Linked DNA regions of Homo sapiens: all the other regions are linked to region 2. The links are contacts of gene promoters, found by promoter capture Hi-C in human tissues and cell types (Jung and others, 2019). All regions are on one chromosome and are shown on one strand. The core of a region is centred on a gene start or on the middle of the fragment in contact, and the rest is flanking DNA. Distances in the headings are between cores, read along the strand shown.

Region 1 (7,209 bases), core at 3,164-5,663, 230 kb after region 2:
AAAAGAAACAGTTTAGAGCATTAAACTTATTTGCTACAGTTAACTTGTATAACTGTCACTCTACTGATATTTATTTTATTTCTCAGGCTAACCTATTTCAAATATCAAGCTAAATTTCCATTTACTCAAGTAAATAAAGGAATTGCTTTTAGGCTTACCCAATATGCAACACTAAATTGAGTTTTAAAACACACATTTACATGCAAGGACACAGAAGGTAAAATGACTGAAAAGTAATTTTAGGAGAAAAGAAGGCTAATGAAAACCTTAAACTAAAAGGTAATCACAAGCTTTGGCTATTATCATATTATTATTTATATTTGTTATTGTATAATTCTGACATCCCAGTTTGTCATCATTGATACTGCTATTTTTATTTTAGTATTTTAATTTTATTTTGCTTTTGAGACAGGGTCTTACTCTGGTGCCAAGGCTGGAGTGCAGCGGCACGATGATCACTGCTCACAGGAGACTTGACCTCCCCGGCTCAAGAGATCCTCTCAGCTCAGCCTCTCAAGTAGCTGGGACTACAGGCACGTACAACCACACCTGGATAATTTTAAAATTTTTTGTCGAGACGTGTTCTCACTATGTTGCTCAAGGCTGGTCTTCAACTCCTGGACTCGAGCAACTCTTACCTCAGCCTCCCAAAGTGCTGGGATTACAGGCATGAGTCATTGCACCAGTGCTGCTTTTATAGTAAACTACAACAAATGTAATTAAATTAGTTCTTTTTTTTTTTTTTCTTTTTTTTGAGATGGAGTCTTGCTCTGTCACCCAGGCTGGAGCACAGTGGTGTGATCTCGGCTCACTGCAACCTCTGCCTCCTGGGTTCAAGTGATTCTCCGCCTCACCCTCCTGAGTAGTTGCGATTACAGGTGTGTGCCACCACACACGGTTTCACCATGTTGGCCAGGCTAGTCTTGAACTCCAGACCTCAAGTGACCCACCTGTCTTGGCCTCCCAAACTGCTGGGATTACAGGCATGAGCCACCGTGCCTGGCCTAATTAGTTATTTTTCTTTCTTTTTTAATTTTATTTTATTTTATTTTTTTTTGTGGAGACTAAGTCTTGCTCTGTCGCCCAGGCTGGAGTGCAATGGCATGATCTCGGCTCACTGCAACCTCCATCTCCTGGGTTCAAGTGATTTTCCTGTCTCAGCCTCCCATGTAACTGGGATTACAGGAGTGCGCTACCACGTCTGGCTAATTTTTTGTATTTTTAGTAGAGATGGGGTTTCACCATGTTGGCCAGGCTGGTCTCAAACTCCTGACATCAAGTGATCCACCGGCTTCGGCCTCCCAAAGTGTTGGGATTATAGGTGTGAGCCACCACGCCAGTCCTAATTAGTTCTTATTATAACCCAAATTTAAGAACTTAAATGAGAAAATATTTTTAGACTTACAAAACCAAAGGCAGAAAAATCATATACCTGTTTACTTAAAGTTGATAATACAAAATAGGCTGGACACGGTGGCTCATGCCTATAATCTCAGCACTTTGGGAGGCCGAGGTGGGCAGATCACTTGAGCTCAGGAGTTCGAGATCAGCCTGGCCAACATGGTGAAACCCCATCTCTAGTAAAAATATAAAAGTTGGCCAGGTGCTCACACCTATAATCCCAGCACTTTGGAAGGCCGAGGCGGGCAGAACAGAAGGTCAAGAGATCAAGACCATCCTGGCCAACATGGTGAAACCCCATCTCTACTAAAAATACAAAAATTAGCTGGGTGTGGTGGTGCGTGCTTGTAGTCCCATCTACTCGGGAGGCTGAGGCAGGAGAATCGCTTGAACCTGGGAGGCGGAGGTTTCAGTGAGCCAAGATCGTGCCACTGCACTCCAGTCTGGCGATGGAATGAGACTCTGTCTCAAAAAAAACAAAACAATACAAAAAAACCCCAAAAGTTAGCTGGGTGTGGTGATACACACCTGTAATCCCAGCTACTCTGGAGGCTGAGGCACGAGAATATCTTGAACCCAGGAGGCGGAGGCAGCAGTGAGCCAAGATCACAACACTGCACTCCAGTCTGGGTGACAGAGTGAGACTCTGTCTCAAAAAAAAAAAAAAAAAAAAGTTGATAGTATAAAAAATAAAGCAGAATGGATTGATAAAGACATTGTGGTTATGTTTTTCTAAAAAAAAAAAAAGAAAGAGACCTTTTTTTCGAGATACAAATAAAACATTTATGAATAAAATTATATATTACCTGGCATTTGCCTCAAAATAACCCAAGGAGGGTAAGTGAAGAACAATAGCAGCATTGGGGGTGGGGGGGTGTAGATGAAACCCGATTGGTTACAAGTTGATAATTGTTTGAAGCTGGCTGATGGGTATATGAGGGTTTATTATACTATTCTTTTTACTTCTGTACATGTTTGGAATTTTCTATAATAAAAATTAAGGTAGGCCGGATGCAGTGGTTCATGCCTGTAATCCCAATAGTGGTGCACACTTGTAGTCCCAGCTACTGGGGTGGCTGAGGTGGGAGGATTGCTTGAACCCAGGAGTTTGAGGCTGCAGTGAGCTGTGATCGGGCCACTGCACTCCAGCCTGGGGGACACAGCAAGACTCTGTCGCAAAACAAAACAAAACAAAACAAAACAAAACAAAAAAACAAAAAATTAAAGTTAAAATTAAAATTCTAAGTCACTATTTCCCTCAGAAGAGCATTAACATTTAAGGAATTTTGTAAGGGTTATTAATGTACAGTCTACATAAAATTCCCATCTCTAATTCCAAAATATTATTTATAATTATGTTTCCTGGCCATGCAATCATTCCCAATGACTTGCAGAAAAAGTTTTCTAAATTCAGTAAAGCTTTTTGAAACTTTCTAAAACATAAAACTACATGTTGAAAAAGGGAGTACGGTTATTGCATATTTAAGTGTAATCATTGTATTTAGCAAGTTTATTTTAATACATGGGGAACAGAAACTATCCTTAATCCTGCAAAGTGGGATTGTAATATCCTACCGACTACAATCCATATAAAAAGGTCCTTATGGCTGGGCACGGTGACTTATACCTGTAATCCCAGCACTTTGGGAGGTTGAGGTGGGTGGATCATCTGAGGTCAGGAGTTTAAGACCAGCCTGGCCAACATGGTGAAACCCCATCTCTACTAAAAATACAAAAAGTAGCCAGGCGTGGTGGCAGGCACCTGTAATCCCAGTTACTCGGGAGGCTGAGGCAGGAGAATCGCTTGAACCCAGGAGGCGGAGGCTGCAGTGAGCTGAGATCGTGTCACTGCACTCCAGCCTGGGTGACAGAGTGACACTCCGTTTCAAACAATAAATAAATAAATAAAATAAAAAGGTCCTTATTAACAATGTGTCCAGATTTCTAGATGATAGCTATAAAAGTAACATACACGCTGATATGGTTTGGCTGTGTCCCCACCCAAATCTCGTCTTGAATTATAGTTCCCATTATCCCCATGTGTTGTGGAGGGACCCAGTGGGAGGTAATTGAATCATGGGGGTGGTTACACTCATGCTGTTCTTGTAAAAGTGAGTGAGTTTTCACAAGATCTGATGGTTTCATAAGGGGCTTTCCCCAACTTCGCTCAATCTTCTCCTTCCTATTGCCATGTGAAGAAGGATGTGTTTGCTTCCCCTTCCGCCATGATTGTAAGTTTCCTGAGGCCTCCCCAGCTCTGTGGAACTGTGAGTCAATTAAACCTCTTTCCTTTATAAATTACCAAGTCTTGGGTATGTCTTTATAGCAGCATGAAAACAGACTGATACACACACCAAACAAGTTAATATGTATGTAATAATACATTAGAAATATTTTTGCTTACCATAAACAACTGGATACACTGTCCCTCGTATACCTGATGCTGGACAATGCATGTTTTTTCCATTCAAGTATACATTTAATTCGACATGGTCATAAGTAATACCCTAGGAAGGAAAAAACAGAAACGTTCCATAAAAGCTGAGCCGTCAGAAAGCATTGACTGGGAAGTATGGAAACACAAAAAGCTAAGCATAGGCTGACAACAATTTTCATTAAGGGTTGACAATTTGGTAGAATCCTACTTGAACTGAGCTAAAAAAATGAGTAGTGATTATGAGGGGGGATAAAGTCAGGTAACATCCCAAGAGTCCACATTAGAGGTAAAACAAAGCCAACAGTTTAAATCCTAGAATTATATTTGTATAATCTGGATTTTATATTTTGAATGCTAAGATAATATAAGTACTACATACCATGAATAGAGAAACCTTTTACACTCATACAGAAAACGCTGCTCTTTCTCTACAGAATTTGATCTAAAGAAGGAAAAACAATGAGGTTTTTTTCACTGTCAGGACTTACTACCTGTCACTGTTTTCAAATTATGAAGAAACGTCTCTATACATTTTATTTCCAGGAAGAAATAACACATTTCTACATCTCTTTACTCTGGTTTCAAATGTGTCAAGTGTATTATCAAGGAAAAGCTGGTGTTCACAACTGAATAAAATTGGTAATTAGTTTCAAGTTAAAAAACAAAAATAGTAGCTCAAATGATTTAAAAAACAATGTAATAAAATTACTCGGTACACTATTGATGGAAAAAAATCACAATTAGTGATATTAATAATTATTGTTAAAATAATTATTTTATAATTATATAAATAAAATATTTATTTGTATAAATATAAATTATTTATATAAATAAATAAAAGGCTAGAAAAGACTTAGCCCATGTTATAAACCAATAGTGCTACTATTCTAGGCAGTTCATATTTACTCATTTAATCCTCACAACAAGACAGTATTACTATCCCCATTTTACAGATGAAGCTAAAGCACAGAAAGATTAAGTAATTTACCTAAGGTTGCACAGCTAGGAAGTGGAAAAGCTGTGATTTAAATCCATACAGTATGGTTTCAGAATCCTTGCTCTTAATCACAATACCTCTCTCTAAATCACCATGCCTCTCTTTAAACACTTGCTCTTAATCACCATATCTCTCTTTAAAACTTTATACAATAGCTACTAACTGATAACAAAAAGAGATCTTTCCCTTGAAAGACAGCAGAGATCTTTCAATAGAGAAGTCATCATAGACCAAGAAGCAAACCACTTCAAGGATTTCAGGATTTCTGACTGTGGATACATTCTATCAAGTTAAAAGCTTTTTAGAGGTAAAAAAAAAAAATTTTATAGATCATCTTAGTCTTAAATTCTCTCTCTTTACAAGCAAGACAGCAAAAGCCCAGAGAAGCTAATGTGGTAAGTGGTATGAAAGATTCTCAATTCTTAGCAAAGCCAGGGTTAACTTAAACAATTATTAATAATTAAGGAATACTGAGAAAGATAAATAGTACATAGATTGCCTTTGCTTCGCTTTAGTTTATGTCTTTAGATAATAGTAATAAAGCTAGCTGATGGCTGGGATTCACTTTTCTAATGAAAAAGTCTGTTTTCATTTTAAAAAACAAAAACTTAATTACATAAAAAAGAAAGTATGTTACTCTCATTATGGGACTACCAGAAATCTAGCAGTTCAGATCAGTGAGGTTGTAATCCAGGCACTTTCATCCCCCAGTGGCCGATTGCAAACAAACAAGTTTGTTTTTTGTTTTTTTTTTGAGACAGAGTCTCGTTCTGTCACCCAGGCTGTAGTGCAATGGCATGATCTTGGCTCACTGCAACCTCCACTTCCCAGGTTCAGGAGATTCTCCTGCCTTAGCCTCCCCAGTAGCTGGGATTACAGGCGCCCGCCACCATGCCTGGCTAATTTTTGCATTTTTAGTAGAGATGGGGTTTCACCATGTTGGCCAGGCTGGTCTTGAACTCCTGACCTCAAATGATCTGCCCGCCTCGGTCTCCCAAAATGCGGAGATTACAGGCGTTGGCCACCGCGCCCAGCCTCAAACAAGCAAGTTTTAAACCCAAGCCTGCAGTAGCAAAATCCCAGTACCAAAGAAGTGAGGAAAGATGTGAGAAGTCCCACCCTCAGTATAGTTTAGTTCAAGTATTTTCTTTCTTTTTTTTTTTGAGACTGGGTCTCACTCTGTCGCCCAGGCTGGAGCGCAGTGGCGCGACCTTGGCTCAGTGTGATACGCCCGCCTCAGCCTCCCGAAGTGCAGGGATTACAGGCATGTGCCACTGTGATGGGCCAGTTCAAGTGTTTTCTAACCTAATCTATTCTATGATGAAGAAACTGGGTTTGATTCTGCCAAAATGATAGCAAAATATACTGTGTGTTCTATGTCTTTATTAATAATTGTGTGCAGGTTAGTGAACAGATTCTGAAATTAGACTGCTTCAGGTATGATCTTGGTTTTTGTTTTTGTTTTTGAGACAAGGTCTTTTTTTTTTTTTTTGAGGCAGAGTTTCGTTCTTGTCGCCTAGGCTGGAGTGCAATGGCGCAATCTCGGCTCACTGCAACCTCCGCCTCCCAGGTTCAAGTGATTCTCCTGCCTCAGCCTCCCGAGTAGCTGGGATTACAGGCATGCACCACTACGCCTGGCTAATTTTTTGTATTTTTTTTAGTAGAGACGGGGTTTCTCCATGTTGGTCAGGCTGGTCTCGAACTCCTGACCTCAGGTGATCTGCCCACCTCGGCCTCCCAAAGTGCTGGGATTACAGGCGTGAGCCACCGCACCCGGCCAGAGACAAGGTCTTGCTCTGTGTGGCCCAGGTTGGGTGGAGTGCAGCGGCAGGATCACGGCTCACTGCCGCCTTTATCTCCCAGGCTGAAGCAGTTCTCCCACCTCAGCCTTCCAAGTAGCTAGAACTACAGGGGCATGCCACTATGCCCGGCTAATTTTCTTTTTAAATTTTATTTATTTATTTATTTGTTTGTTTGTTTGTAGAGATGGGGTCTCACTATGTTTCCCAGGCTGGTCTCAAATTCCTGAGCTCAAGGGATCCTTCTGCCTTGGCCTCTCAAAGTGCTAGGATTACAGGCATGAGCCATAGTATCTGGCTGAGCTATATAGTCTTGTAATTAACTCACATAAGAAGTTACTTAATTTCTCTTAATCTGTAAAATGGGGATAATAATACTACTACCGTACGGGCGTGGTGGCTCACACCTGTAATCTCAGCACTTTGGGAGGCCGAGGTGGGTAGATCACTTGAGGTCAGGAGTTCCAGACCAGCCTGGCCAAAATGGTGAAACCCTGTCTCTACTAAAAACACAAAAAAATTAGCTGGGAATGGTGGCAGGCACCTGTAATTGTAGCTACTCAGGAGGCTGAGGC
Region 2 (7,250 bases), core at 3,205-5,704:
TCCTAGCCTCAAGCAATCCTGCCTCGGCCTCCCAAAGTGCTTATTACAGGTGTGAGCCACTGCCCAGCACTATTCTCTCTTAACTGCACACGAGGACCCCCGACTCATAGTTCTAAAGCCAGATTTTGCTGTCTTAGTTAACATGATCACCATTACCCATGTTGCTCAGGGCCTAAGCCCCAAGATCATGTCCACCCCCAATCTACAAGTGGCCACTTTGACTTACCACATTCTCCCCTGGAAAGTCTCTCACAGTTAGCTTTCCTCCCCATTTTAAGTTCCAACACCACCTCAGCTTGCCTCTCTCTTTTTTTTAAATGACTCCCCACACTACAGCAGTTGCTTTTTGTTGCTCTTCTTGCCCCTCAACTCCATCCTTTCCAATCCAACCTGCACCATGTTGAGAGACAATTCTCCATGAATATCTCACATCCTGCACTGTCTGGGTCTCTGAGCAAAGACATTTATATCAATTTTAAGAATGTTTCTATAATGAGCCTTTCCAGAGTAGTAAACCTGGGAGACAGCTCCCTCCAGAGAGGTTCTAGGGTGGTAAAGATCAAGACCTCACCTTCTCCTCCTCAGAGGTTTACATTCCTAAGATAAGGTCTCTCCAGAGAGAAGTATGGACAGGCCACCACCAGCTCACAATAAGATGGACGCGTAGTTCTGGAGTTCCTTTCTTGTAACGCATCCCACTGCATGTACAGGCAGTAACATCTGGCCTTCATTATGTTGTCCTGTGGGGTTTGGGCCTTGGGGAATCAAACTGGACTACCTTGTTAACTTCTAAGTTGGGTAAAATCTCGGACGCTAGAGTTTCTGACTTAACACATCACCACTAAATTATCTTTATGAAGATCTGCTTTGGCCACGTGACTTCCCTGCTTGAAATCCTTCAGTGGCTTCTCACTACAGAATACAATTCTTACCTGTCACCTTTCCAGCTGGTCCTCCCACTTCTTATGTAAACCCTGTGCTCCTGTCAATCTGGACTACAGGATGTGTTCCATACACAGGCATTCATATCTTGCCTCATGTTTCTGGCCATGCCTGAATGCTATACATAGATTGCAGAAGAGATAAAATTTTATCCATGAAGCACCAGTGCCTAGGCTGCCCACAGCGACCTCAGAATGGTGACCCCACCATTTCCTTCTTCTAGTATGTTGCCATGGCTCCTTCCAGGTAGGCTGATGGGAAGTCAGCCTGCCCTCTGCTGTAGTCATAACGAGCTGAACTGATGACCAGTGCTGGGGCCCAAGGTGACTGCACTCTGGTTGGACATCTGGGAAATGAACTGCCCCTGGGAATGCTTGGCTTGAAACTGTCCAACAGGATAGCTTTCAATTTGATGGCAGCCAAAAAACCTACAGAGCTCCTCTCTTTAAGAAGTGTCAGGGGGTGGCCAGGCGCAGTGGCTCACGCCTGTAATCCCAGCACTTTGGAAGGCCGAGGCAGGTAGATCACGAGGTCAGGAGATCGAGACCATCCTGGCTAATATGGTGAAACCCCGTCTCTACAAAAAATACAAAAAATTAGCCGGGCGTGGTGGCGGGTGCCTGTAGTCCCAGCTACTCAGGAGGCTGAGGCAGGAGAATGGCGTGAACCCGAGAGGCGGAGCTTGCAGCGAGCCGAGATTGCGCCACTGCACTCCAGTCTGGGTAATAGAGCGAGACTCCGTCTCAAAAAAAAAAAAAAAAAAAAAGAAGTGTCGGGTTAAGGAGAGGCAACTCATCTTCTAGTGAACAAGTGAGTTTTAATTTTGGTTCTCCCCTAAGCTCTACATCTTAGTCTTAGCTTGTCCCACACTTCTGGGTATTCTTGCAATAAACTCCCAAGCAAAGACAACATGGGCATGTATTTTCTTGCAGCCTCAACTGCTTAATTCAAGTGCTCTCCCCACTGATCTCTGAGACACATGTACAAAGACGTTGGTAGATGCATTGTTTGTAATGACAGAAAAATGTGTCCACTAATATGGGCTGGTTAAGTGATCGTATTCATCAAATATAAGATACATCCCAATTTAGAGACATTAAAATATCAATCAAATGGCCTACAGTAGTTACATGATGTAGTTGATTCTTCTAATATGTGAAAAAATGTGGGTCTTAGACTTGGAGAACTAAGGTATGGTGTATTCACACAGTGGACTACTTTGCAGCTGGGGTAGGTAATGGCACAAAAGGAGGTGTGTGTCGTGTTACCTGTAACAACCTGAGCTTGAAAAGTAAACAGTCTTAAACCAAGTGGTGAACACACGCATATAGTTTAAGTATTTTTACAGCTTTTTGTTTGTCTAAGGTATGTTAAACATTTTTCTTTTTTTTCCCAAGATAGAGTCTTGCTCTGTTGCCCAGGCTGGAGTGCAGTGGCTTGATCATGGCTCACTACAACCTCCACCTTCCAGGTTCAAGCAATTCTCCTGCCTCAGCCACCCGGGTAGCTGAGATTATGGGCACCGTCACCACACCTGGCTAATTTTTGTATATTTAGTACAGACGGGGTTTCACCATGTTGGCCAGGCTGGTCTTGAACTCCTGACCTCGTGATCCACCCGCCTCAGCCTCCCAAAATGCTGGGATTACAGGCATGAGCCACTGTGTCCGATATGTTATACATTTTTATATATATACATTCTGATATGCTATATACAGTTATACCCAGCCAATATGTTACACAGTTTTCTCTCACTGGGCCTAGCAACATTTTTGTTATGTTATACATTTTGTTATACATTTTTTCTAACCGGGCCTAGCAATCTGCTTTATCTCCCTTGTTCTGTGGGAAACCTTGTGTTCAAGTGATAGCTTAAAAATCAATTCTCGGCTGGTGGCGGTGGCGGTGGCTCACGCCTGTCATCCCAGCACTTTGGGAGGCCAAGGTGGGCAGATCATCTGATGTTAGGGGTTTGAGACCAGTCTGGCCAACATAGTGAAACCTCATCTCTACTAAAAACACAAAAATTAGCTGGGCGTGGTGACGGGCGCCCGTAATCCCAGCTACTCGGGAGGCTGAGGCAGGAGAATAGCTTTAACCCAAGGGGCGGAGGTTGCAGTGAGCCGAGATAGTGCCACTACACTCCAGCCTGGGCAACAGTGTTAGACTCTGTCTCAAGAACAACAACAAAAAAAAAGACAAAAAAAAAAAAAAAGAATTCTATAAATAAAGGAGTTGAGAGAAACATTCACTGTCCCTTATCTCTACATGTTGATTATCAGAATAAAAAGAATTCCAGCAACATCAGTCATGGGCACAAAGCCAACCCGTAAACATTTACAGAACTCGATGATTACCCAAAACTCGGCTTGCTTTCTCAATACTACTGACTTTGGCTTCACATTAGCCACAGGTGTGTCTAGAGTTAAACAAGGTCAACTTTACAAAAAAAAAAAAAAACAAACTGATACTTGGGCATAGTTTAAAAAAAACTTAAAAGTGTGTGTGTGTGTGTGCGTGCGCGTGTGTGGTGGGGGGCGGGGCATTTCAATATAAATGCCTTAAACACAACCTTCCTGGCTATTTTATAAAATGGGTTGAATCTCTAAGGACACATATTTCCTAAGACCTCGACTGATACACAGAGTGCAAACTTGGGAGCCAGACTAGACTGCCTCAGAATCATGCCAGCTGTGTGGCACTGGAAAGTCACCTAATTTTGCAGCGCCTACCTTCACCTCTGTAAAATGGGGAACAATAATAACTAATTTATGGATGCTGTAAAGATCTGAAATTTTAAACTCAGTAATGCGCCTGGCACACATTAGACACGGGTGTTTCGTTTGTCTTGGCAAAGGCTTCGGGTTTTGCGACAATAGCCTTGCTGCCTCCGGAGCAAGCATCTCTCCTTGCCCCCTCTGGGGCATTTAAAAATGACCTCAATTCTACTCTCAATTATGTCCAGTTCAACAGTTACGTGCAGGTTACAAAGCCGAGGAAGCTGAGGTATCTTCTAAACTAACATAGCACGTACAGAATTTTTTTAAAGTTTGGTGGAGGAATCGGCAGCACAAGGTAAGCTGCGCTCTGTTCACAGACCTGGGAATCAGAACTCCGGCCGCCGCGGCCTCCAGGCGCCTCTCAGCTAACAGACTTCCTGCAGCAGGGGGAGGGGCGGCCAGCTCGCTGCAAAAAGCCGCAGGACCCCCTCACCCCGCCTTGCCGCCCCCGCTCCCACTCTCTGGGATGGGGAGTGCAGGGTCTAGGCGATGGCACTTACCAGCGCGAAGTGCACCAGCGCGTCGTAGCAGAGCCAGATGAGCGCCCCGCGGTCCGCCGCCCCCTGCCCGCGGCCCAGGCGCAGGCCCAGGGCGCAGCCCGCCGCCAGCAGCGCGGCGCACAGCAGCAGCGAACCGCCAGCCTCGGCCCCCAGCTCCCACTCAGCGCCCATGCTTCAGGCTTCCGACGCCAACGGCCCAGGACCATGCGGCAGAGGAAAGCAGGGAGAGAAACGACGGGGCGGGGCTGGCCGGGAAGGGGCGGAGCCGGATGGCCAAGGAGGAGCGGAGCTGATTGGCCAAGGCGGTCCGGGGAGGGACGGGGCTCCCCGGCCGGGTCGGGGCCAGAGCGAGGATTCCGTGCCCGCCTCGCACCCTGGCCAGCCTGCTGAGTCCGGTGGTTTTGCCAGGTGCCGCCCATGGAGGTTCCGTAGAAGGAACGTGCTCACCAACTTGCGCAACCGCCTCGACCAAACCTGTTCCCAAACCGAGCCCAAAGGATTGGTAATAGGGCCACACCTTTTGATGTTGTTTCGCTTTTAACAAGGCTCAAACTTTAAGCCACAAAGTGAAGCCTAGGTAGTGGAAATTTTGCCAGTAGACCGGGGCAGAATTTTAGGGGCAAAAGGTTTTAATTAGGCTGCAGCAAGCCTTACCAGGGAGGCTGGGGGCCAAGGGAGTTTTCAGCCACCAGCCGGCTTAAAGCCTTTATGGCCTACTCTGACAATCTTTCCATTTCTTAAAAATCCAGAAAAGTAGAAGGGTGGGTGAGAGGAGCGGTAAGTCCTATTGGCTTGGCGATAGATGCGTTTAACCTGTGGCAGGCCAGGTTTCACTATCGCAGGCCTCCATCACAACTGCTTCAGCACTGAGTGGTTAAATTAAATATTAAAAGCTGAGGCCGGGCGCGGTGGCTCACGCCTGTAATCCCAGCACTTTTTGCCAAGGCGGGCGGATCACGAGGTCAGGAAATCGAGACCATCCTGGCTAACACGGCGAAACCACGTCTCTACTAAAAATACAAAAAATTAGCCGGGCGTGGTGACGGGCGCCTGTAGTCCCAGCTACTCCGGAGGCTGAGGCAGGAGAATGGCGTGAACCCGGGAGGCGGAGCTTGCAGTGAGCCGAGATCGCGCCACTGCACTCCAGCCTGGGCAACAGAGCGAGACTCCGTCTCAAAAAACAAAAAAAAAATTAAAAGCTGAAAGAGTCAGTGCCCATATACCAAAGTCTGGAATGTAACAAAAGCCCACCAAGAGTTTTGCCTAGGCCTTTCTTGGGCCTTGAAGCATGACAAGATAACTAAGGAATTTTTAACAGGACCCGTTTAGGATTAAACAAGTTTTATTGGGGGTCTGAAGAAACTCCCCAGGCCTCCAAAAACAAGTTTATTGGGAGTCTGGAGGAATTCCACAAGCCTCCATGATTTAGCAAGAGACAAAATAAGGGTAATCATCCCAGCACCCAGACCTATTTAGATTAAGTAAATTTACTGAGGCTCCAGAGGAAGGTCTTCAGGATTAGAAGTTGTTAATCACTTACGTCTTTAGATGAATGCACTCTTACACGTAGACATATAGCTTAGAAGGTATATACGCTCTGGAAAAACTTTGTAATTATGAGTTGGTCTGGCAATAATTTCCAGACCTTCTCCCTGTAACCGGTTGCAGAAATAAAAACTCTTCTTCCCCAGTTCATCTGCACCTCATTATTGGGCTGCCCAACCCCCAGTTTGGTCCGGGAACAAACCTACATTATTTAACATCACAACAACCCTATGAGGTCGGTGAAATAAGCCAGTCACAAAAACATACTTATGATTCCACTTACAGGAAATATCTAAAATAATCAATTTGCAGAAACAAAATAGAATGATGGTTACCAGGGGTGGGGCGGGGCGGGAGTGGGGGGGGGGCGCGGGGAAAAGTGGAGTGTTATTTATTCGGATAGTTTGATTTGCAAGATGATGTTCTGGAGATTGGTTGCACAACAACGTGAACATACTTTACTGAGCTGCACACTTAAAAATGGTTAAGATGGCAAATTTTATGTGTATTTTACAGTTATTAAAAAAAATGCTGGCACTGAACACAAGAAATTTTTCCCTTAGTCACTTCCTATACCATTTTTTATAGCAGTTAACACCAGATAGAATGATCCTTGTTTACACACTTATTGCTAATCTCCTGCCACTATAATGTAAGTCTTCAAGGCCAGGGGTTGTGGCTAGCTTTTTTATTGCTGTATCCCTGGCACCTATTACAGAGTTTGGCATATATTAGCTGCTCAGTTAAATAACTGGCGACTGAGTATGGTCAATCTAGCCACCTATGCTCTGGATCCTGTCCTGTAACTAACTTATCATCCTTTAGGGACCACTCGGCCCACCTCCCCTTCAGAGCAAAATAGAAACTTAATGAAAAAACTGATCAGATCCCCTGTCTTCATGTCTTGACCCTGCTCCTCAGTCCTTTCTACTCTGGTTTCTGCCTTATCACACTGATATAGCTCTCACTAAGGTGACTACTGGCCTCCACATCACTGAACCCCAAGAACAGTTCATTTTCTTAGTGTAGTTTACTTCTCAGCAGCATCCCAGCACTGAAATATTTTTCCTTTGGTTTTCTGAGAATACAGCCTCCTTAGCCATTCTGTTTCCTTTGCAAGTGCATCTTCCACTACAAATGCCTAGTGAATGCTGCAGCTCCACAACCCAGTCCTCGGCCCTGTTCTCACTCCAGACCCCAAATCCAGGCAGTCTCATCCTTACCCTCTGCTTTAATGACCAGCAAAACCTGCAGAGAACTCAAATCTCTAGCCTGGTCCTATTCTCTGGACTCCAGACCAGTATTTCCAACTGCCCTACTTGACAGTCACTTGGATGTCTCAATATAACCCAAACTGAGCTCATCACTTTCCACCCCAATGTCTGATTCTCCTTCCTATCTCATGTTACTTCCACTCATCAGTTACTACAACCCGGAAACCTAGAAATCATCCCCGATACTTCTCTCTCCCCAAACTTGGCAT
Region 3 (7,472 bases), core at 2,223-4,722, 210 kb after region 2:
TAGTGGTCGGCCAGGAGTGGTGGCCCATGTCTGTAATCTCAGCACTGTGGAAGGTCAAGGTGGGTGGATCACCTGAGGTCAGGAGTTCGAGAACAGCCTGGTCAGCATGGTGAAACCCCACGTCTACTAAAAATACAAAAATTAGCTAGGCGTGGTGTTGGGTGTATGTAATACCAGCTCCTCGGGAGGCTGAGGCAGGAGAATTGCCTGAACCCAGAAGGTGGAGGTTGCAGTGATCCTAGATCTCATCACTGCACTCCAGCCTGGGTGACAAGGTGAAATTCCATCTCAAAAAAAAAAAAAAAAAAAAAAGCTGGTGGTCAGATCGATGGAAACAAATTCATGAAAATGTTTCCTTCAACCTGAGAAAGCTGATTAATAAAAGAAAAACATGTAAAATAAAATAAAATGTTTCTGTCTGGCAATGATCAGAATCATATTTGCTTTTCTTTTCTTTTCTTTTTTTTTTTTTTTTGAGTTTCTCTCTTGTCGCCCAGGCTGATGTGCAATGGTGCAATCTCGGCTCACTGCCACCTCCGCCTCCCGGAGGCAATTCTCCTGCCTCAGCCTCCCGAGTAGCTGGGTAGGTGCTCACCACCACACCTGGCTAATTTTTGTAGTTTTAGTAGAGAAGGGGTTCCACCATGTTGGCTAGGCTGGTCTCAAACTCCTGACTTCAGGTGATCCACCCCCCTGGGCCTCCAAAAATGCTGGGATTACAGACATGAGCCACTGCGCCTGGTGCATATTTGCTTTTCTTAACTAGGTTGCACTTAATACCTATTATAGTCAACAGACTGAGTTGAAGTCTTAAGAGACACATCAAACATTCACTTATTCACTCAGAGGGGCCAGATTTGGTGCCAGACCTCTAGTGAGGAGGCCACTAGAGTAACCTGGGGGAGAAATGGGTGGCTCAGCCACTAGAACCAACTAAGAAGACCACAATTATTAAAATTTTAATTATTTATTTAGAAACAGGGTCTTGCTATGTTGCCTGTGCTGGAGTGCGGTGGCTATTCACAGGCATGATCATAGCTCACTAAGCCTCAAACTCCTGGGTTCAAGCCATCCTCCAGCCTCAGCCTCTCAAGTAGCTGGGACCACAGGTGCATGCCACTATGCCTGGCTTAAAAGACCACAACGTTTTAGAGCTATCTTCTAGTGGTACATCTGCAGTTTTACCTTTAGTAACAGTGCCACATTCTTCTTCATTCTAGACCACTGCATTCTGAGCCATCAGTATAAACATTTATTTCCCTGAATGAGATGAAGCCAAAGACCTACTGCCTTAATAATGGACAGACAGTGGAACAGAGCATGAAATAGCTGTTTGTCCTGAAAAGGGTTTTTTTTTTTTTTAGGAAACAGCAGAGACTGTAAAGATGCTGAAGCCTCTGTCCCTCTTCCCTGGAGACCAACAACCTTCATTTCCAGTCTCAGTTCCTGTGCTGTTCACACGGATGGTCCAGTGATGATCTGGTTCCCATCCATCCAGCCTATGAATCAGGGAGGAAAATGAACAGTGGTACTGATTGAGGGAAGCTTTCTTGAGGTTTTCTGTTTCCTTATGAAGTATCTGGATGACAAGCTTCCCTTCAATGCATTCTCAGGGGCTTGGTCTTTACCCAGAGCAGAGGCTGAGAAAATTATTAAGATTTCTGAAGCAGTCTGTCCCACCCTAACACATCACAAATGCGAGCATTTGAAGAACAAGAGCCACATGCAGTTATTTATTTATTTATTTATTTATTTATTTATTTATTTACTTACTTATGACAGAGCCTGGCTATGTTGCCCAGGCTAGAGTGCAGTGATGCAATCTTACCTCATCTCTGCCTCTGGGGCTCAAGTTATCCTCTCACTTCAGCCTCCGGAGTAGCTGGTACTACAGGTGCACACCACAATGCTCGACTAATTTTTTGTAGAGACAAGGTTTTTCCCTGTTGCCCAGGCTGGACTCAAACCTCTGGGCTGAAGCAATCCTCCCGCCTTGGCCTCCCAGAGTCGGGGGATTACAGGCTTCTGCACCCAGCCGCCTTCTCTTTTTGTTAATAAACTCTTTGCTGTGCACAGCTGAGAGTGGGGACTCAATAAATGTCAACAGAGGATTGTGTTTTTACAGACAGATGGACGTGGAAGAATCCAGAAACACTGGTGTTACTATGGTTTATTTAGTTTGCTGGATTCCAACACCAAATGAGAGAGGTATTCTATTGTAGAAAAACAGAAATCCTATTGGATATAAATTTAATGAAAATCTCGAGAACTATTCAGAAACAACCAAATAAAACCATACTTAAGAGTATGTGGGCTAGGTGTGGTGGCTCACACCTGTAATCCCAGCATGTTGGAGGCCGAGGCAGGTGGATCACCTGAGGTTGGGAGTTGGAGACCAGCCTGACGAACATGGAGAAACCTCGTCTCTAAAAATACAAAATTAGCCGGGCGTGGTGACCCATACCTGTATTCCCAGCTACTCTGGAGGCTGAGGCAGGAGAATCACTTGAACCCTGGAGGAGGAGGTTGCAGTGAGCCAAGATTGCACATTGCACTCCAGCCTGGGTAACAAGAGCAAAACTCCATCTCAAAAAAAAAAAAAAAAGATTATATGAAGTTTAAAACTTCATACCTTTAAGTAAGATTATAATGTTCTTATAACATATTAGCCAGCTGAAGCGGCTCACACCTATATCCCAACACTTTGGAAGGCTGAGGCAGGAGGATCGCTTGAGCCCAGGAGTTGGAGAATAGACTGAGCAGCAACATAGGGAGACACACACTCTATAATCTTTTTTTTTTTTTTTTGAGATGGACTTTCACTCTTGTTGCCCAGGCTGGAGTGCAACGGCGTGATCTCGGCTCACCGCAAACTCCACCCCCGGATTCAAGTGATTCTCCAGCCTCACACTCACAAGTAGCTGGGATTACAGGTGCCCGCCACAATGCCTGGCTTTTTGTATTTTTGTATGTTTTTTTTTTTTTTGAGACAGAGTCTGGCTCTGTCACCCAAGCTAGAGTGCAGTGGCATGAGCTTGGCTCACTGCAACCTCCGCCTCCTGGGTTCAAGCGATGCTTCTGCCTCGGCCTCTTGAGTAGCTGGGATTACAGGCATGCGCCACCACACCCAGCTAACTTTTTAGTAGAGACGGGGTTTCACCATGTTGATCAGGCTGGTCTTGAACTCCTGACCTCGAGATCCACTCCCCTCGGCCTCCCAAAGCGCTGGAATTACAGGCGTGGGCCAATGCGCCCAGCCCACATTTTGTATTTTTAGTAGAGACAGGGTTTCACCATGTTGGCCCGGCTGGTCTCGAACTCCTGACCTCAATTGATCCACACCACTTGGCCTCCCAAAGGGCTGGGATTGCAGGCGTGAGCTAACATGTACCAACTACAAAATTGTTTTTTTTACTTGTTAGGTGTGGTGGTGAGCCCCTCCTGTGCATACACCCTGTGATATATTATTCGTAATATCTAAAAGATTTTACTCCTAATATCACAGTGGGTGTATACCAGTGATATTATTCATAATATCTAAGGGAGATGATACTACTCCTAATATCACAGTGGGTGTACACCCTGTGATATTATTCATAATATCTAAAAGAAGATATTACTCCTATTATCACTGTGGGTGTACACTCTGTGATATGATTCATAATATCTAAAAGAAGATATTGCTCCTAATACCACGGTGAGTGTACACACTGCGATACTATTTGTAATATCTAAAAGAAGATATTATTTGTAATACCTAGAAGAAGACATTGCTTTTAATACCACGGTAGGTGTACACCCTGTGATACTATTTGTAATATCTAAAAGATATTATTTATAATACCTAGAAGTAGACATTACTCCTAATATCACAGTGGGTGTATACTCTGTGATATTATTCATAGTAGCTAAGGGAGCTATTACTCCTAATTTCACAGTGGCTGTACACCCTGTGATATTTTTTATAATATACAAGGGAAATATTACTCTAGCATCACAGTGGGTGTACACCCTACGATGTACACCCTATGATGTTTCTTTTTTTTTTTTTTTTTTGAGACTGAGTCTCACTCTGTCACCCAGGCTGGTGTGCAGTGGTGTGATCTCAGCTCACTGCAATCTCCGCCTCCCAGGTTCATGCCATTCTCCTGCCTCAGCCTCCCGAGTAGCTGGGACTACAGGTGCCTGCCACCACGCCTGGCTAATTTTTTTGTATTTTTAGTAGAGACAGGGTTTCACCGTGTTAGCTAGGATGGTCTCAATCTCCCAACTTCGTGATCCGCCTGCCTTGGCCCCCCAAAGTGCTGGGATTAAGGTGTGAGCCACTGTGCCCGGCCTAAGTGTGATATTTCTTTTAATGTCACAGTGGGTGGACAGTCTGTGATATTATTCGTAATATCTAAGGGAGATACAACTTCTAATGTCACAGTGGGTGTACACCCTGTGATATTATTCGCAATATCCAAGGGAGATATTACTCCTAATGTCATAGTAGGTGTACACCCTTTAATATTTTTAGGAATATTCAAGTTAGATATTATTCGTAATGTCACAGTGGGTGTACACCCTGTGATATTATTCATAATATCCAAGGGAGATATTAGGACTAATATCACAGTGGTTGTACACCCTGTGATATTTTCAAAATATCCAAGGGAGATGTTACTCCTAATATCACAGTGCATTTATACCCTGTGATCTTATTCTTAATATCCAAGATTGATATTACTCCTAATATCACAGTGTGGGTACACCCAGTGATATTATTCATAATATCCAAGGGGGATATTACTGCTAATATCACAGTGGGTGTACACCCTGTGATATTATTGCTAATATCTATGGGAGATATTACTCCTTTTATCACAGTGTGTGTGTATACCCTGTGTGTACATCCTGTGATATTATTCGTAATACCTAAAAGATATTGCTAAAAGCACTCCTTGTGGTTTGCGCATGTTGAGATGAAAATGAGATGGAGGTCATGATCTTTTTAAGGGTGGAAAAGCATGAACACAAAGTATCATTTCATAAAGCCAATTGCAGCATCTCTGTCCATGGGGCTTCAGGGGAAGAGATGAAACCTTTGTTGAGATTCTACCATGTGGGTCAGGCAGGGACACAGAGTTATTTATGGGACAGCCCTTGTCTTAGTTGGTGAGAGGAGGAAAAAGGAGCAAAAACCTGAAAGGGGATGTGCAGGGCCAGGATGCGAGTGGGGGTCGCATTCCAGTAATAGCTAAGTCTGGGCAAGGGGGAGGACCAGGCTGTGAGATGGTGGTGGATGGAGGGGTACAAGGGGAATGGCTCTGAAGGATGTATTGGTAGATGTAAAAGAAGGTGTCCAGGGGTCTGGCCTTGCTGGAGGACTTCGGGGGATGGTAGCAGCAGCATAAATAACATAGAAGCATCAAATAGGAGACTAAGACTTCAAAAGTCAATCAAGAAGTACAGAGGGGAAAGTGCAATTTAGGGCTAGATCATGGAATGAGGAGATGGGCCAAATGCTGGGGATGGGGGGATATCATTGTAGAAAGGGCTGAGATGGCTTTGGAGGGAGTTCCCCTAACCCAAAGGTTCTCTAAAGAAAGTGGGAGTGATTTAAAATACACTTGAAGGAAACTATAAAACTGCCTGAGAAATAAAAGAAGACCCAAGATTTCAAAAAATCCTGGGTCAGATGTGGTGGCTCACCTCTGTATCCTAGCACTTTGGGAGGCTGAGGAGGGACGATCGCTTGAGCCCAGGAGTTCGAGACCAACCTGGGCAACAGAGTAAGACCCCTCCTCCCTGTGAAAAAATACAAAAATGTGTCTGGGCGTGGTGGCAACTGCCTGTGGTCCCAGCTACTCAGGAGGCTGAAGTGGGAGAATCACCTGAGCCTGGGAGGTTGAGGCTGCAGTGAGCTGAGATTGTGCCACTGCACTCCAGCCTGGGTGACAAAGTGAGAACCTGTCTCAAAAAAGATAACAGAAGATTGGGTGCGGTGGTGTGTGCCTGTAGTTCCAGCTACTTGGGAAGAGAGCTGAGTGGGGAGAATTGCTTGAGCCCAAGAGTTCATGGCTGTAGTGTGCTATGATGGTGCCTATGAATAGCCTACTGCACTCCAGCCTGGGCAACATAGTGAGACCTCCATCTATACAGAATAAAAGATAGGAGAAGGGTAGGCCTAGAAATGCCGCATAGTGGAACAGTTAATAAGAGTCTCTGTTGGAGGCCACCTGGGTTTGAATTTTTATTCTGCCACTTCTGCCATCTGAACTGGGACAGTTTCTCCATCTATAAAATGGGGGTGATTGTTCCCATCTTATAAAGTCATTTGAATATTAAATGAGCCAATGTGTGTGAGGTTCTTAAAACAACGTCTGGCATGTAGTTAATGCTCAATTTTATTTTCTTTTGTGGTCTCTTTGAAATGCAGAAGCAAGTTACAGTATTATGCCTATAACTAACATTCAGTTATTTTCCTTCCTACATTCATTAGATAAGTATTTGACAAAGTGTTGCACAGCCCCTTGTTCTAAGAAAAAGAGTTCTTGGATTATGTGTTGTGGTGATGTTGCACGTATACACTCTCTCTTGGTTAGCAGACTGGCTTTTGGAAGTCCCACAGTAAATACAGGTAACTGTTGACCTCCTGAGCTAGTGTTCTATAAAACACACTTTGAGGAAACACTGTGTTGTATAAATCTAGATCAGAGAAAAGGTTAAACGACAGATCATCTCAAAATCTCAAATAGGTCTCTTTTTTTTTCTTTTTTAAGAGTCCTCGTCTCACTGTCATCCAGGCTGGAGTGCAGTGGTGTCATGACCACAGCTCACTGCATGCAGCCTCTAACTCCTAGGGTCAAGCGACCCTCCTGCCTCAGCCTTCTGAGTAGCTAGGACTATAGGCATCCAACATCATGCCCAAGTACTTTTTTGTAAATTTTTTTTTTTTGAGACACAGTCTCGCTCTGTCGCCCAGGCTGGAGTGCAGTGGCGCCATCTCAGCTCACTGCAAGATCTGCCTCCTGGGTTCACGCCATTCTCCTGCCTCAGCCTCCTGAGTAGCTGGGACTACAGGCGCCCACCACCACGCCAGGCTAATTTTTTTGTATTTTTTAGAAGAGACGGGGTTTCACCGTGTTAGCCAGGATGGTCTTGATCTCCTGACCTCGTGATCCGCCCGCCTCCGCCTCCCAAAGTGTTGGGATTACAGGCCTGAGCCACTGCGCCCGGCCAATTTTTTGTACATTTTTTAAGAGATGGGATTTCGCTATGTTGCCCAGGCTGGTCTCAAACTCCTGGCCTCAAGTGATCCTCCTGCCTCAATCTTCAGAGTTGCTGGGATTAACAGGTGTGAGCCATCATGCCTGGCTCTATTCAAATGGGCCATATTTTTATAGCCATTAAAATAGATTCAAGTAAAACATTAGTATTTGGAGATTAGATGTATTGTTTATTTCAAGACACATCTATCAACTGAATTA
Region 4 (6,904 bases), core at 581-3,080, 250 kb before region 2:
CTCTATTGGTATATAGAGACTTTCTCCCTTCTTTTTTATGACCTCTATGGAAAGACGGTGACTTGGAAGGGGCACAATCTACCTGCAGACTGTTGTACTGTCTGGATGCACCTTAGTTTATGCAATCAGTTCTCTATTAATGGGCATTTTAGTTATTTCCAATCTTTTGCAAATGCAAGTAATATGCTGCTATGACTAACCTCCCTTTGACTATTCCCTCCCATGCAGTTTATGCTTATGTATCCTTACCAGCAATGTATCAAAGTGCCTATTTCCCCACAGTCTACAGGGCCTATTGTATAACTTTTGGATTTTGTTGAAAAATGCTTTAACATAGCTTTAATTTATATTTTTCTTTGTATGACTGAAGGTGGAACATCTTTTATTTTTGAGATGAAGTCTTGCTGTGTTGCCCAGGCTGGAGTGCAGCGGCATGATCTGGGCTCACTGCAGCCTCCGCCTCCCAGGTTCAAGCAATTCTCCTCCCTCAGCCTCCCCAGTAGCTGGGATTATAGGTGCTCACCATTACACCCAGCTAATTTTTGTATATTTAGTAGAGGTGGGGTTTCACCATGTTGGCCAGGATGGTCTCAAACTCCTGACCTCAAGCGATCTGCCCACCTTGGCCTCCCAAAGTGCTAGGGTTATAGGTGTGAGCCACCACGCCCAGTCTGGAACATCTTTTATATGTCTGTCATGTGCATTTCTTTTTCATATCTTTGGCCCATTTTCCTACTGGGTTGATGGTCTTACTTGCCTGGAATTTTACGAAGGTGTTTTCATCCAGGAGGTTAGCTCTTTGTGATATAAGTCCAAATATTTTTCCCCGCTTTGTCGCTTGCCTTTTGACTTTGCTCGTGGCATTTTTCACTATTTAAATACTTTTTTATTAATATAGTAGGATTTATCATGGTTTTTCTTTAAGAATGAGTCATAGTTATAAAATCTTTGGCTTATACTTTCGTAGACTTTAAACATGTTGTTCCATGGCTGTTTTGCTTTGTATGTTGCTGTTTAGAAGTCTGTTGCTAACCTCTCCTTTCTGTCTGGAAGCCCAGAGGAATTTTTCTTCATCATTTTGAAAGTCCAACTGTTTTACTAGGACATGACTTGGAACTGACCATTCTGGATCAATTTTCCCAGTACACAATGAGCCTTTTCAACATGTAGATTGGAGTCATCTCTTATTTCCAGAATGTTTTCATGGATTGAAACTTAACTATTAGCTTTGCTATTGTTTTTTTCTTCTTAGGAACTCTACTTTTACTTATTTTCTATATCAATCACTTTCTATTACTTTTTAACCTTTCTTCATTTAATTTTCATTATCTTGGTTGTTTTCATACCTTTTCTCAATGCTCCTTATATTCAGTCCAATCTTTTCTTATGTACCTTGGAATTTAGCTTCATTTCTTTCTTTATGACTTTTTTTTTTTTTTTTTTTTTTTTTTTGAGACAGGAGTCTCTCTATATTGCCCAGGCTGGCCTCAAACTCCTGGGCTCAAGCCTCTCAAATAGCTGGAACTACAGGCATGCACCACTGCATCTGGCTTTAACTTCATTTTAAAAGCTGATTTTTCTTTTGATTTATTTTATTTCCTGAGTTCAGTAAATTCACTTTTCATATCTTCCTCTTTTTGTCCATTTGTTTTGCAGTTTTGAATTTGGATTTGAGACTTTTTATCTCTACAAATGTTAGTTTAAGGATATTTTAAATTCTGGTAGGAGTACTGTGCTGTAGTTTTCTTTAGTGCTATAGTTGGATGTTTCGGGAAGACTTTTCATCAGCTAAAATTTTTTAAAAACTTTTTTCCTTATTTTTTGTAGAGACTAGGTCTCACTATAGTGCCCAGGCTGGGCTCGAACTCCTGGGCTCAAGTGATCCGCCCACCTTGGCCTCTCAAAGGGCTGGGATTACAGCTGTGAGCCACTGTGCCCAGCCCAGTTGAAATGTTTTGACTATCATTTTGTTTTCCAGCTAAAGTAACTTTATATGGATGTTGCCTGCCATCTTCTGTTCATCTTGAAATATTTTATTTTTCCTAAACCAGATATAGTTGTGTATAGGCAGAAGCAAGGAATTTAGATGACTTAACTGGATTTCTTAGTAAATAGTACCTAATAAAGTGTTTTTTTGTTTGTTTGTTTTTAATTAATGACTCCTTTTTGGGTGGGAGAAATGAGTATCTATTTTCTATTCTGGTTCACCAAGATCCTTAATTTCTACTACCCCTTCTCTCTATCACCAAGCCTCCAGGTAGATGGTGACCCTTCCAAGGCACCCTCTTTCCTTTCCCCAGAAGCAGTACTTTCATGAGACTGCGTCTTTGGTCTCATTTTCTTTCAAGTCTCTTATTTTGTCTAATGGATCTTACACCTCTTCTCACTTCTCTATCCAGGGTGGGGCTTTCTCTTTCTGGGAATTATCTGTATTCTGCTACCCCTAGGTCCTGCAACCTCTCCTCTTTTTTTACAGTCTCCACCTTGCTTGCCACTTCTCCATGGATTCTGCTAGACTGCAGTGTTGATTTCCCTGCATGCCCATAGACATTTTGCTAGCTATTAATGTATGCTTACATATCAATAAATTTGTATGGGTTTTCTCTTGTTAACCTACTGTTAGTTTAGTTCAGCCAACTCAGTTATCAAACCTTCAGAAGCGAAATTTAAGCTTCCCTGCAAATTGCTGGTTATTATTTAATATTATTTTGACACAGGGTCTCACTCTGTTGCCCAGGCTGGAGTGCAGTGGCGCAATCACAGCTCACTGTAGCCTTGACCTCCTGCGTTCAAGAGATCCTCCGACCTCTCTCAGCTTCCTAAGTACCTGGGACTACAGGTGTGTGCCACTACGCCCAGTTAATTTTTTTATTTTTTATTTTTTTTAAGAGACAAGCTTTCGCCATGTTGCCCAGGATGGCTGGTCTCAAACTTCTGGGCTCAAGCAATCTTCCTGCCTCAGCCCCGCAAAGTGCTGGGATTACAGGCATTAGCCACCGTGTCCAGCTGGTATTATTTTTATTAGTGTTCTATCTTGCACTTCTGAGTATGTTTAAGCTTCCACCTGTCAGCTTCAAGGGCTTTTTTCTCCCAGCTAATGCCTAAAAGGCAAACAACCTTATTCTACTTCTCATTCACCCTCCTCTTTTCCTCCCATTTTTTTGCGGGTTATATTATTTCTACAATGTCAGACCATGTAATATTTATATACTATTCTATCATCATTATCCTCATCTTTTAATCTTGATGCTACACACAAAATATATTTGATTTGCTCACCACCTGACCTTATGTTGAAGATTTTCCAATCATTTCTTGGTTGTCTGAAATTTGTTCTCTAGTATACGCTTCAGAAGGATTCATGGGAACAATTATAGCCATTTTCCTTGAATTATTTCATGTTTATAAATGTTTGTCAATGCCCTGAATTCTTGAAGGGTAGTTTGGTGAGATAGGAATTATTTTATTTCTTTGAATAAATACTTTCTTAATATCTGACATAAAATGTTGCCACCAAAAATCCAATCTGATTTTCTTTGCAAGTGACCTGCTCTTTTTATTTCCCCCATCAATGCAAGAAGGGTTTATTTTTAAAAATCCAACAATTTTACAGGACCACATCTCAGTGTTAACTGTTGTGGGTTGATTTCTCCAGGTTTACAGTATGCCTTTCAACATATGTTACATTTAAACCTACTTTAATGTTAAGCGTTCTTGAATTACAGTCCTAATAGTTGTTCTGGTCCATTGCTTTGGCTTGCTTTGTTTTACTGTAGTAAAATAAGGAACATAAAATTTACTGTTTTAAAGTATTCAATAAGTGGCATTAAGTATATTCAGTGTTACATAAACATCACCACTATCCTTGGGCTTACATTTGGGGAACTCCATTTATATTTATTCTGGCTCTCTTTGCCTGTCTTGTCACCTCTTGACTCCTTTTTAAAAATCTTTTTATTTTCTTCATTTTTCCATTTTTCTTATCGTACTTTCTGTGATGTATATTCACTCTTGGTTTCTAATGCAATCATCACTTTAAACTGTCTTTTTCTTAATCTTTTATTGAGTTTTGTCTGCTCTCATTGCACCTCCTTCTATGGTCTAGCCATCTCATTTCTTTTTTTCCCCTGAAAACATAGAAAGAGGTGAATTTTATTTACTTTTTTATAATTTCAAGTTCTCTTTTAGATTTGGGGGTACATGTGCAGATTTGTTACATGGGTATACTGTGTAACGCTGAAGTCTGGAGTATGACAGATCCTGTCATCCAGGTACTGGGCATTATACTCAACAGTTAGTTTTTCAACACTTATTGCATTCCTTCCCTGCATAGTATTCCACGGTTCATATGTAACCAATCTATCCCTGATGGACACATAGGTTGATTCCACATCTTTGCTATTGTGACTAGCACTATGATGAACATATGAGTGCATGTATCTTTTTGGTAGAACAATTTCTTTTGGATATACACCCAATAATGGGATTGCTGGTCAAATGGTAGTTCTGAGTTTTTTGAGAAACCTTCAAACTGATTTCCACAGTGGCTGAACTAATTTACACTCCCACCAACCGTGTGTAAGTGTTCCCTTTACTCTGCAGCCTTGCCCACATCTGTTGTTTTTTGACTTTTTAGTAAGAGCCATTCTGACTGGCGTGAGATGATGTCTCATTATGGTTTTGATTTGCATTTCTCTGATGATTAGTGATGTGGAACATTTTTTCATCTGTTTATTGGCCACTTGTTCTTTTGAGAAGTGTCTGTTGATGTCTTTTGACCACTTTTTAATGGGTTTTTTTTTTTTTTTTTTTTGCTTGTTGAATTAACTTCCTTATAGATTCTGGATATTAGACCTTTGTCAGATGCATAGTTTGCAAATATTTTCTCCTATTCTGCAGGTTATCTGTTTGCTCTGTTAATAGTTTCTCTTACTGTGCAGAAGCTCTTTAGTTTAATTAGGTCCTACTTGTCAACTTTTGTTTTTGTTGCAATTGCTTTTGAAGACTTAGTCATAAATTCTTTCCCAAGGCTGATGTCCAGAATGTTTCCTAGATTTTTTCCTAGGATTCTTACTGTTTGAGTTCTTACATTTAAATCTTTAATCCATCTTGAATTGATTTTTGTATGTGGTGTAAGGTAGAAGTCCAGTTTTGTATGTGGTGTAAGGTAGAAGCCCAGTCTTATACACATGGCTAGCCAGTTATCCCAGCACCATTTATTGAATAGGAAGTTCTTTCTCCATTGCTTCCTTTTGTCAATTTTGTTGACCAGATGGCTGTGGGTGTACAGCTTAATTTCTGGGCTCTCTATTCTGCTCCATTGGCCTATATGTCTGTTTTTGTACCAGTACCATGCTTTTTTGGTTACTGTAGCCTCAAAGTATAATTTGAAACAAGCTACACATTCAGTAGCACTGAATGTGTAGCTTGTTTTGGGCAGTATGGCGATTCTAATGATATTGATTCTTCCAATCCATGAGCATGGAGTGTTTTTCCATTTGTTTGTGTCATCAATGATTTCTTTCAGCAGTGTCTTGTAGTTCTTGTAGAGATCTTTCACTTCCTTGGTTAGAGGTATTCCTAGGCAGTGTGTGTGTGTGTGTGTGTGTGTGTGTGTGTGTGTGTGTGTGTATGGCTATCGTAAACAGGACTGCATTCTTGATTTGGCTCTCTGCTCCAACATTATTGGTATAGAAACGCTACTGATTTTTGTACAGAGTTTGTATCCTGAAACTTACTGAAGTTATCAGTTCCAAGAGCCTTTGGTGGAGTCTTTAGGGTTTTCTAGGTATACAATCAGATCATCAGCCAAGAGAGATAGTCTGACTTCTTTTCCTATGTGGATGCCTTTTGTTTCTCTTGCCTGATTGCTCTGGCTAGAACTTCCTACGTATCTCATGTCTGAGCTCTTATTTCTGAATTTATGTGGTTCTTTCAAAGATTTCATCTTTTCCTTAAATTCTCTTAGCTTACTCTGAAATATTTAGATTGTCATTTTCATCTGCTTTGTGGCCACATTTTTGGGGTATGTTTTCATAATCTCGTGCAATGTTTTATGGCTTATTTTGATGATTTTCTTATAATGATTTAGTGTATATATATATATATATATATATTCCCTTTTCCCATATATTTATATAACTATATACTAAAAGGAGGTTCCCGGCTAGGTACAGTGGCTTATGCCTATAATGCTAGCACTTCGGGAAGCCAAAGCAGGAGGATCACTGGAGTCCAGGAGTTTGAGACCAGCCTGGGCAACATAGCAAGATGCCATCTCTCCAAAAAATTAGCCAGGCATGGTGGCACATATCTATAGTCCCAGCTACTCTTGAGGCTGAGGAGGGAGGTTCACTTGAGCCTGGGGGGTCAAGGCTGCAGTAAGCTGTGATCATGCCACTGTATTCCAGCCTGGGCAACATAGCGAGATCCCATCTCTAAAGAAAATAAAAAGGAGGTTCCTATGTTACACTGTATGGACATGCTGGAGTTTAAAAAAATCTATTTCCTAGTGGAATCTGGTTGTTTCCAGTTTTGGCCATTACAAATAAAATCGCTATAAATATTTGCAGAGCAGCCAATATAGGTTTTCATTTCACTTTTCATCAGAGAAGCATACAATCATCAAAGGGGAAATTAAAACCACAATGAGATACCCCATCATACCTCATATAAAGGCTAAATATTTTAACTGATAATGCCAAGTGCTGACAAGGATGAAAAACTACTGGAACTCTCTTATCTTGGTGGTAAATTTCAATCTAGAGTGGGCTTGCCAGATCATGTGATAAGGATATGATTAATTTTATAATAAACTGTCAAATTGTCTTCTAGGTGGCTGTACTATTTGCAGTCTCACCAGCAAGACTAAGGTTTCTCCTTGTTTTGCATCCTTGCCAGGAAA

Evidence for each region. The method cuts DNA at HindIII sites, captures the fragments that hold promoters and counts their contacts. A contact is called where the count stands out against the background at its distance.
Region 1: a fragment that was not itself captured here is called in contact with the fragment with the promoter of EBPL in region 2 in 4 of the 25 tissues and cell types used here (IMR-90 fibroblasts, aorta, bladder and 1 more).
Region 3: a contact is called between a fragment that was not itself captured here and the fragment with the promoter of EBPL in region 2, in 2 of the 25 tissues and cell types used here (bladder and mesenchymal stem cells).
Region 4: a fragment that was not itself captured here is called in contact with the fragment with the promoter of EBPL in region 2 in 1 of the 25 tissues and cell types used here (bladder).

What each region holds. Positions count from the first base shown.
Region 1 is chr13:49,917,673-49,924,881 of GRCh38, forward strand. It overlaps SPRYD7 (SPRY domain containing 7), which reads right to left. Exons shown (of 5, transcript NM_020456.4): 4 at 3,806-3,908. Among named protein-coding and RNA genes, the nearest start is that of SPRYD7, 15 kb to the right of the region's middle. The HindIII fragment of the contact is 5,717 bases long and covers 1,556-7,209 here.
Region 2 is chr13:49,687,032-49,694,281 of GRCh38, forward strand. It overlaps EBPL (EBP like), which reads right to left and starts at 4,455. Exons shown (of 4, transcript NM_032565.5): 1 at 4,223-4,455. The coding sequence starts at 4,393. RefSeq lists an enhancer at 3,750-4,747 and silencers at 4,211-4,350, 4,381-4,580. The HindIII fragment of the contact is 15,697 bases long and covers 1-7,250 here.
Region 3 is chr13:49,896,175-49,903,646 of GRCh38, forward strand. No RefSeq gene overlaps it. Among named protein-coding and RNA genes, the nearest start is that of SPRYD7, 36 kb to the right of the region's middle. The HindIII fragment of the contact is 7,505 bases long and covers 1-7,225 here.
Region 4 is chr13:49,435,129-49,442,032 of GRCh38, forward strand. The region is part of intron 1 of CAB39L (calcium binding protein 39 like); the gene reads right to left. Among named protein-coding and RNA genes, the nearest start is that of CAB39L, 5.5 kb to the right of the region's middle. The HindIII fragment of the contact is 6,619 bases long and covers 1-5,140 here.